Linked DNA regions of Homo sapiens: region 2 is linked to region 1. Evidence: promoter capture Hi-C in 16 types of primary human blood cells and fetal thymus (Javierre and others, 2016). All regions are on one chromosome and are shown on one strand. Each heading gives the region's core, a stretch centred on a gene start or on the middle of the fragment in contact. The rest is flanking DNA. Distances are from core to core; before and after follow the strand shown.

The links. The method cuts DNA at HindIII sites, captures the fragments that hold promoters and counts their contacts. A CHiCAGO score of 5 or more calls a contact.
Region 2: a fragment that was not itself captured here is called in contact with the fragment with the promoter of CHRNB3 in region 1 in 1 of 17 cell types (M0 macrophages); the score reaches 5.4 in M0 macrophages.

The regions. Positions count from the first base shown.
Region 1 is chr8:42,695,393-42,700,047 of GRCh38, forward strand. CHRNB3 (cholinergic receptor nicotinic beta 3 subunit) reads left to right here and starts at 1,974. Exons shown (of 6, transcript NM_000749.5): 1 at 1,974-2,206. The coding sequence starts at 2,155. It overlaps LOC124900250 (a long non-coding RNA gene), which reads right to left and starts at 3,499. Exons shown (of 3, transcript XR_001745887.2): 1 at 3,420-3,499; 2 at 1,934-2,108; 3 at 1,106-1,183. The HindIII fragment of the contact is 9,513 bases long and covers 1-4,655 here.
Region 2 is chr8:42,392,791-42,397,445 of GRCh38, forward strand. VDAC3 (voltage dependent anion channel 3) reads left to right here. Exons shown (of 10, transcript NM_005662.7): 2 at 1,055-1,094; 3 at 1,420-1,488; 4 at 2,294-2,343. The coding sequence starts at 1,422. Among named protein-coding and RNA genes, the nearest start is that of VDAC3, 3.2 kb to the left of the region's middle. The HindIII fragment of the contact is 3,477 bases long and covers 426-3,902 here.

The DNA.
Region 1 (4,655 bases), core at 724-3,223:
ATTTGAGGTTTCTACAGTGGGATGGTGAAGAGTTGAGTATCTTTGCAGGGAGAAAGGTGGCTGTAAAGTGAGACAGAAAAGAACTTCCCAAGGCATAGGAAGGGGCTGGCAGGTCCTTCTGGCAGCAGGACCGTGCCCTGCTCAGGGTTGCACTCAAGGGGTGCAGTCCTCAGCAGGCCAGGGTTGTGTGGGACCCAGGGAGGCAGGGTCCTGTTACCAAGGCCTCCGGTATTGGCAGAATCCTGGGTCTTGGCAGAATCCTTGGCATCGGAGAAGGCAAAGAGCAACCGAGCTGTTGGCTCCATGGGACCGTGTGGGTGGGGCATGGACCCCAGCTGTGGTCAAGGCAGCCTGGAGGATACAAGACTGTGCCATATTTTGGGGACCACAAAAGGCTTCCAGATTCAGTTGCTCCCCTAGGGAGAAGGCTGCAGGGCCTGCAATGACTGAGATTGGATTTCCAGCCAGTTCCATGGAAGGCTAGCTTCATTTTATTCAATTTCTTGAAAATAAAGGTGAAACTTCCTGCACACTTGGATTGGCGGTGGCTGATTTACTCCTGAGACCATTACAAATTCTCAGCAGGCTGGGAGCACAGTTGAGATGGATAGGAGGAAATCAGTGCATGGCTCCTTCCTTCCTCCTTGCATTCCCACAACGTTCTCAAGCATTTGCAGGTGTCAGGCCCTGGACACAGAGAGATACAGAGGAGACTCCAGAGGGCTGGAGACCAAGCCCTCCTGCAGGAGCTGGTGGTCTAGGAAGGGAGGCCAGGCAGGGCAGCGACATTGTGATGTGAGGGGCTCTGAGACAGGGGCCCTGAGGAACAGACAGGGCTCAAGAGCTCAGGGTCCCGGGGTCCTGGGCTAGACCTCTTTTCCACACATGATGCCTCCTTACCGAGCACCCTCTGGGTGTCTCAAACTCACTAATGGCACACAGAGGAGGGTTAAATTAAGAAATTTAAAAATTGGACTAAATCACTGCCGCTAAGACAGAATTCCTCCATGCCCTGGAGTGGGTTCCTCCAGCACTCAGTTCCCAACCAGATAGGTCTTGGCTCCCACCTGGCCCTCTTGTCTGTCTAGCCCTGACTTTGTACTTGCCATTCATTTGATGTATCATGCATTTATCAAGGGCCCTCTGGGTGTGCACAGCACTGAACTAGATGAAATCTGATCAACTGTGAAGAAGAAAGGATGGTGTTATTAGTGTCCAAGTCTCATACATAAAACACCACTAACCTCCCACCCTACTGTCCCCTGCAGTGACCAGAAGGTGGGCCTGGTGGGGTCAAGGGAGCCACAGAGAATGTGCTGATATTAACACATGTGGGAACCAGCAGAATAGGGAGGCTCCAGGACATACTCATGACTTCAGGTCCAACTGGAAAAGAGAATAGAGAGGCTGGGCGCAGTGGTTCATGCCTGTAATCCCACCACTTTGGGAGGCCAAGGCGGGCGGATCTCCTGAGGTCAGGAGTTCAAGACCAACCTGGCCAACATGGTGAAACCCTGTCTCTACAAAAATACAAAAATTAGCTGGGCATGATGGCAGGTGCCTATAATCCCAGCTACTCAGGAGGCTGAGGTGGGAGAATGGCTTGAACCTGGGAGACGGAGGTTGCAGTGAGCCGAGATTGCACCATTGCACTCCAGCCTGGGTGACAGAGTGAGACTCCATATCAAAAAAAAAAAAAAAAGAATAAAAAGAAAAAGAAAAGAGAATAGAGAAATAACGGGGATGAGAAACTTTTCACTATGGATGTGGTAAAGTGTGGTTCTTCTGTACGCAGATCTCCAACTGTAAGAAAAATAGCACAGAACATTCAGAAGTTGTCTAGTTTCATCCTTTCTCCAGTGCCCCGCATCTCTTGCAAGGGAGTAAATTAATAAGTCAGGAGTTAGGACCCAGAGATATGTTTTAGACTTACACGATCTGACAGCTGACTGCAAATCAATGAAGTGCACTTTGAGAAGCGGCACACTCGGCGAGAGGGGTTGAGATTGTTTTATTCCACTCCAGGTGTTGCTGTCCTCTTGGGTTCCACTTCGGATTTTGAACCCCTGTATTTTCTTTTCAAAACCCCCTTTTCCAGTGGAAATGCTCTGTTGTTAAAAAGGAAGAAACTGTCTTTCTGAAACTGACATCACGATGCTCCCAGATTTTATGCTGGTTCTCATCGTCCTTGGCATCCCTTCCTCAGGTAAGCACAAGTCACAGTAAATTAAAACTACAGTTGCAGAATTATTTAAGCAGAGGAGGCAAAACTATGGTGTTGATAATGTTAGAATTACAATATGTAATGCACAAGATACATTTAGGATAACCTTTAAAATGTGGCCCAAATGAGTAATTCTGTGAGATGTGGGGTTTTTTTTGCTGAAGAAATCATATCTATGATTTTCATAATGTTTATGTTTTTGTCATTTGCTGCGTTTCTCCTTCTGAATCACTATGAGCTTGGTAAGAAAATACAAAAGCAGGAAAAACATTATTGAATGCACTGAGCATTACTCAGAGAATTGTTCAAATATTTGGCACAGAAATTTACTATATCAACATTTTTCTATCATATTTACCAATAATTTCTATATCTGCATGTAGATATTTAATTTTGTCCAATATGCCCTGTAGGCCTATATATTTTAATAAATCTGTGTATGTAGGTAGATTTAGCATGTTTATATATCACAATTAAACACCAATGTATCAAAACTCTATGTGTTTTATGTGACTATTATCAACTGAAAATAGAGGAATTTTTGATAAGGATAAAGGACAAATAAAAGGAAAAAGTGAAAGATAGAGACAGAGATGCAGAGAAAGAACAAAAAGAGAAAAAGAAAGGGGAATAAAGTACTGAAAGGCTTTGGGGATTGGTCATTTGCACCTGCCAATTTCCTGGGTTTGGGAATCTTTTCACTTTTTGTGTAACTTGAGAACAGAAAGTTTTCCCCCATTGAATCAGAAACCATCTGAAACCGCAGCCAGATGGTGAGAAAAGTGTCAGTTCACTAGCAATTTGTATTAATTTCTCAGTAGTATTTTTGCCACGTTTGATTATTGTAATTTTCAAATGGAGAACTGGAGACACTAAGGGAGATTTGCCCAAATCCAGAAATAAATTCTACATTTCAAGTTCCCAAGGCTGCGAGGCACCTGAACATTATCCTGTTGTCAAAAACGCCTTTTCTCAGACCAAGGACTCAAAGTCAAACAGGAATTTCTAAATGCAGAAAGCCTCAAACTCACTTTCAAATATCATGAAATTTGGACTTTTCAAAGTCTTGAATGCAGTTTGCCAATCACAAAAATGATAAGAAAATTCTGTGTGTTTGAGCTTACCATTAATGTACGTGTGTCTGATGTTTTTCTGTCTTTATTATTCTATTTATTATAAGACAATTGATTCTTACCACTCTTTTCCCAAGGAATGATTTCTCTCAATGGTTAGCGAGGGTGTTTAGCATAAACTCTCTTGGTTCAGCTAAGTCTCGTCCTCTGTGTACAATCATGATTACATAAGAAAACTGGAATTGCTTGGCCTCTGGCATTGGTCTCCATTGTGTGGGCTGGAAGAGTTTGGGAAGATTGTGTAATCTTTCACAGATCTATAATAAATCTAATAACCTGTGATAAATCTTACATCTGTATTTCTAGATCCATCAGCATCTGCTCATATTTTTAAATCTGTCCCATATTTCCTTACATTTTTTAACTTTACTATTCATTGTAAACAAAATAGTTTCTTTTTGTTATGCAAAACTACTTTTTTCAAATTACAAGAGGCAACCCCTTCATTTTTATATTTCTGGCTTTGGTAAAAAGGAGCCTTGGGTGTGGCCATGGGTTGTCTCTCATATTGCTATTTCATATTTTGTGTGTGCTATCTGCTCTCAAAAAGCAGGAGGTGTATCTTATTTATCTTCCCATCTCTCTTACAACATGATGATATGATAAGACACAATGTGTTTATTCATTCAATAAATACTTATTGAGCATCTACTGTATCCTAGGAATGGTTCCAGTGTCTAGGAATGCAAGAGGAAATAAAAACAAAGCCATTTTCTAATAAGCTCTCAGCTGGGCATCATGGCTCACACCTGTAATCCCAACACTTTGGGAGGCCAAGGTAGGCAGATCACCTGAGGTCAGGAGTTTGAGGCCAGCCTGACCAACATGGTGAAACTCCGTTTCTACTAAAAATACAAAAAATTAGCCAGGCGTGGTGGCACACGCCTGTAATCCCAGCTGCTCGGGAGACTGAGGCAGAAGAATCGAATCGCTTGAACCTGGGAGGCAGAGGTTGCAGAAAGCCGAGATCACACCACTGCACTCCAGCTTGGGCAACAAGAGCGAAACTCGGTCTCAAAAAAAGAAGAAAAAGGTCTCATGCTATCAAGAATCCATTGAATATGCATTCTTTGATTTCACCATGAGGGCTAGCTCCATGGGTGACGGAAGAGGCTGCCATATTTGTGGTATGCTTTTTTTTTTTTTTTTTTTGACGAGGCGGCAATAGTGGAAGGAAGAAACAAAATATACCAAAAGGCATCAAAGCAAAAAAATCCACATTTCACAATCGTCTTTGCTGAGATTTGGAATTCTTCAATAATTTCTTTTCTTTTTTTTTTTTGAGATGGAGTCTCGCT
Region 2 (4,655 bases), core at 914-3,413, 300 kb before region 1:
ATTTCTATTTCAATATATACTGCCTGCATTTCTATACTTACTTCCCAAATTACAGACTTCTGGCAAAATTTCAACAAATATCAACATCAGTTGTAATCATAAAGAGTAATATCAAATTGCAATTGGGATAATATAAAAAGCCTAGAATTGATCACTTTAGTACAAGGGATTGAATTGTAAAATAATCGTTCTGTAAGTGAATTATGAAACCTGGTAGCTTAGAGCAAAGTTTTACTATGGAATGAGTCAGTACATTTATACTACCGTTTCCTCTTTAATTTTTTTTTCTTTTTAGTTTTTTATACTAGTCTCTTTATATCATAGTGTCTGTCATATTTGACAGGTTTATGTTAAGGAACAAAACTTAAATGCATTCCCATTTAAGTGCATCATATGTATATGTTTGGTATGATGGGGTAGGCAGAAGCTTAGCAGAAGTCTGGATTAAGAGCTGGGCTATATATAAATAAATATGAGCTTAAATGTGTAGATCATTCAGGCGTAGCAATTGCAAGGGCTAGCTGGTACTCTGGATTTTTCTGACATATGGGCTAATGGCACTGCTAGAGGTGGCTCTGTAATTGGTTAGACATAGCTTTTGAGTCTGCGAGAGGAATACAGAAGAACCTGCTGCAGAAAGATTTCCCATGATACAAAGAGGGCAAAGGAATGAGATAATCAGCAGTGTTGATAGCTCTGAGAATTTGATATGAGGGTCATATTACCAGTAGCAAAGCTGGGCAGATTTTTAGTAGGCAAGATGAAAAATCAAGGCACCTGAGGTTTTTGAAGGCTTTAACTTCAGAGTTTACACTAACTTTTGGTAAGCAGGTTGCTGCAGGTAGAATCTGTCATATTTCTGGTTAATGGGTAAAATTATAGCACTTTAAGAAGAGCTTTGAGAGAAGATATATTCTAGATGAATACACTTCAATTCGTATGGTAAATTCTTATTTTAAGAACTGAATTTCAGAGGAGAAAAATGTTAACCCTGAGGATTTTGATTGCATCTTTTAACAGTTTCTTTAAAAATTTCCATTGTTGTCTTATACAGGTCTTTGGTTTCATAAGAGCCTGAGAGAGATTTTTCTAAGGTAAATTTTGCATATATTTTTAAAAGAAGTCCAGTTTAACATAGCATCTTTTTCATCCTGTAAGAACTTACTTTTCTTTGAAATGCAATCAGAAAGATGACCTCTGAATCTCACGGGAAAACTGTTTTATTCTCAGTATTCTGGAAAGGTCTGTTTTTTAAGGAGCAGACTGCTGTCTCATACCTTTGATTGCATTAAAGCATTAATGATACACAGGAAGAGAAAACTGTATACCCCTTCTCACAGGATTAAACAGCAGAAGAACTGTGGGTGAATAAATACTAAATGGTTATTTTTATTCCTTTGCCCTGTTTTTCTTTATAAGATATGTGTAACACACCAACGTACTGTGACCTAGGAAAGGCTGCTAAGGATGTCTTCAACAAAGGATATGGTAAGTATGCTATTGTAACTTTCCAGTTTGGGGTAAAGGTTAGTGTTGAATGCCTACTGTGTGTAAATACTGTGTTAGTAAAATAAGGGTAAGTCAGCATTATTCCACTTCACAAGATTTAAGGGGATAACTATTAACAGGCTATTAGACCTCATTCTTTAGAGGCAGAACCCCTTACAAGCATTAAAAGCAATTATATACATATACAGATGCATATACATGTCCATATTTAATGTTATCTGGAATGTAGAATAATATATATAACATTTATGTCTCTTTGTCTGGCCCTGAGGACAATTAAATTAGGGGGTAGAACTTTTCCTCCCTCCAAACAGTGGCATTGTTTTTATGAAAGTGACAACATAACTTTTGACTTCTTTGGAGTAATGTATATTCTGATCCTAAATAAATATTTTTTAGGTTTTAAAATTTAACTTAAATTTATGTGCTGTACATATTTGATTTTTTCTTATTAACTAGTAATGTTAACTATATTTTAAACGATATATATAGCAGCACACTATTTTCAGCAATTTTGATTCTTGGAATAGTGCATATTCCTTTCATTTATTTTTTTCTTTAACTTACATTTTAAAAGTATATCTTTATTCATTTTGAGTGCTTGAAAATTATACTGCATTTATTTGGTTATAATTCAGTTTCTTGAGGAACTCTCACCCAATGAAAATACTATGCATTTTTCATATGGAAGGTACTATAGGCTATTTCATAATTTCTGAGTTGCAAAAACTAGTGAATGTCACATTTTGTACATTACTGTGTTTTTGTGTGTGTGTGTGTATAGGCTTTGGCATGGTCAAGATAGACCTGAAAACCAAGTCTTGTAGTGGAGTGGTGAGTATCTAATATATTTTTAATGAATGTAACATAATTAACTTAAAGGAATCTGTTTAAAATCATGACAGTCTAGTTACTTGAACCAGCACCATGCTGTCTTCCCCACAGCTTTGTCCTCTCAGATTTTAAACAGCATTCTTAGCCAATTAAAATAAACAACCAAGTTGAATTTTTGAAGAGACCTTTTGTGTTTCTCAGAGTATACTACAGCTTTCACTCAGAAGATGTAGAATATATATTTTTTGACCCATGTCATATGTTTATACTTTCATGAATATGTATATGGGCACCAAAAACCTCACTTCCATGATAATGGGTTCATGGAAATTTTATTACCCTTTTACAAAAACAAATTAACTTTACTCTGCCCCTTCATGATTAGTCGAAACAAAATATGTAAATAAAATGTATTTCTGCACGTATGCATGTACATTATTCTACAGTTTTTAACTGATGTTTATAAAGTTTTTTTTATTGGAAGTAAAGACTACAGTAAAGGCTATGTTGGCATATTTTCAAAGTATCATTAACAATAGCTTTTGGCTGGGTGCAGCGGCTCACACCTGTAATCCCAGCACTTTGGGAGGCCGAGGTGGGCGGGTCATGAGGTCAGGAGTTCGAGACCAGCCTGGTCAACATTCTGAAACCCCGTCTCTACTAAAAATATACCAAAAATTAGCTGGGTGTGGTGGCACGCACATAGTCCCAGCTACTCGGGAGGCTGAGGCGGGAGAATCTCTTGAACCTGGGAGGTGGAGGTTTCAGTGAGCCGAGACCAAGCCATTGCACTCCAGCCTGGGTGACAGAGTGAGACTTTGTCTTAAAAAAAAAAAAAAAAAGGCCAGGTGCGGTGGCTCACGCCTGTGATCCCAGCACTTTGGGAGGCCAAGGCGGGCGGATCACGAGGTCAGGAGATTGAGACCATCCTGGCTAATATGGTGAAACCCCGTCTCTACTAAAAATACAAAAAAATTAGCCAGACCTGATGACGGGTGCCTGTAGTCCTGGCTACTTGGGAGGCTGAGGCAGGAGAATGGCATGAACCCAGGAGGCAGAGGTTGCAGTGAGCAGAGATCGTGCCACTGTACTCCATCCAGCCTGGGCAACAGTGCAAGACTCCGTCTCAGAAAAAATTGCTTTTATTTAATAAATCTCAGCAAGTAGGTTAAGTTTTAATTTACCTTACTCTGATTTCTCCTCATTGGCTGCATCGTTTTTGGTATTTATCCATTCAAACCCATGAAAATTTTATTTCTGAATGTATAATTAGAAGGACAAAGACATGTGGAATTCTAATGATACTGTGTATAATCATGGTTTGTGACCATCATTCTTTCCCTGGGTTTCTCTGGAGTAAATAAATATATATGCACCTCCCTTACTAAGATGGGCACGCTGTGTATATAGTTCTGTTAAAATAGAAGAATCATTCTCATTTTGTGTAGGTTCCAGAATTTGCTCATTAGGTTTGTGTTGCAAAAATTATCAACTAAAATTTTATCTCCCTTTCATGCTGCTGTTGTGTGGTAATATTCATTCAGATGGTAAGAAAAAAAAGCTTATTCGTATGCTTGTTTTTATGGCTGCTTTTGGTTTCTGGTATTGATTTAGGATAAATTTCAATCATTGTTCCAAATTTCTTAGATTGTGTCTTGATATTTTTCTCATATGCTATCTACTTAACAGTAACATTTTTGTTTGTTTTGTTGCTTACTAAGCATTTAATGTAGAGCTATATGCATGTTATATGCATGTTATAAATGTGTTTTGCACTTGTTTGACCAAATTATGAAATTAGACACAAACTGAACTGTGAATCGTGAGCCTGGAACTCAACTTAGAACAATTCTAGCCTTTTTTTCTGAGATTTGTACCTGTGGCATTTTAGATTCGTGACAGACCTTCAAACTAAGAATTGATGCTGACAAGGGAGAAATGTAGACTACCCCTCTACCTTAATTTTGTGCATAAGGTTTTTCTAGCACCAAAATTAAGATTTGCATTTGTTATACTTGTCAAGTTTGTGAAAAGTAAATGTAAAAAATAAAACACTAGATAGTTGGATCTACTAAAAGAAAAATGATTGTCACGTTAAAATAATTATGTGAACAGTTAAACATGATTAACATGTTATCATTTTTTTTTTACTAAGGCCTTCCCCTAAATGTGCAGCATGATACTCTCTTTGAAACCATTCTGTGTGGTTTGATAAACAGAACATAACTTCCCAGTTGTCTCATCTGCCTGTAGAACTAGAGTTAGGGGACAGGGCATTTGTTAAGGAGAGGATTCATGTTGCAGGCAGTGAA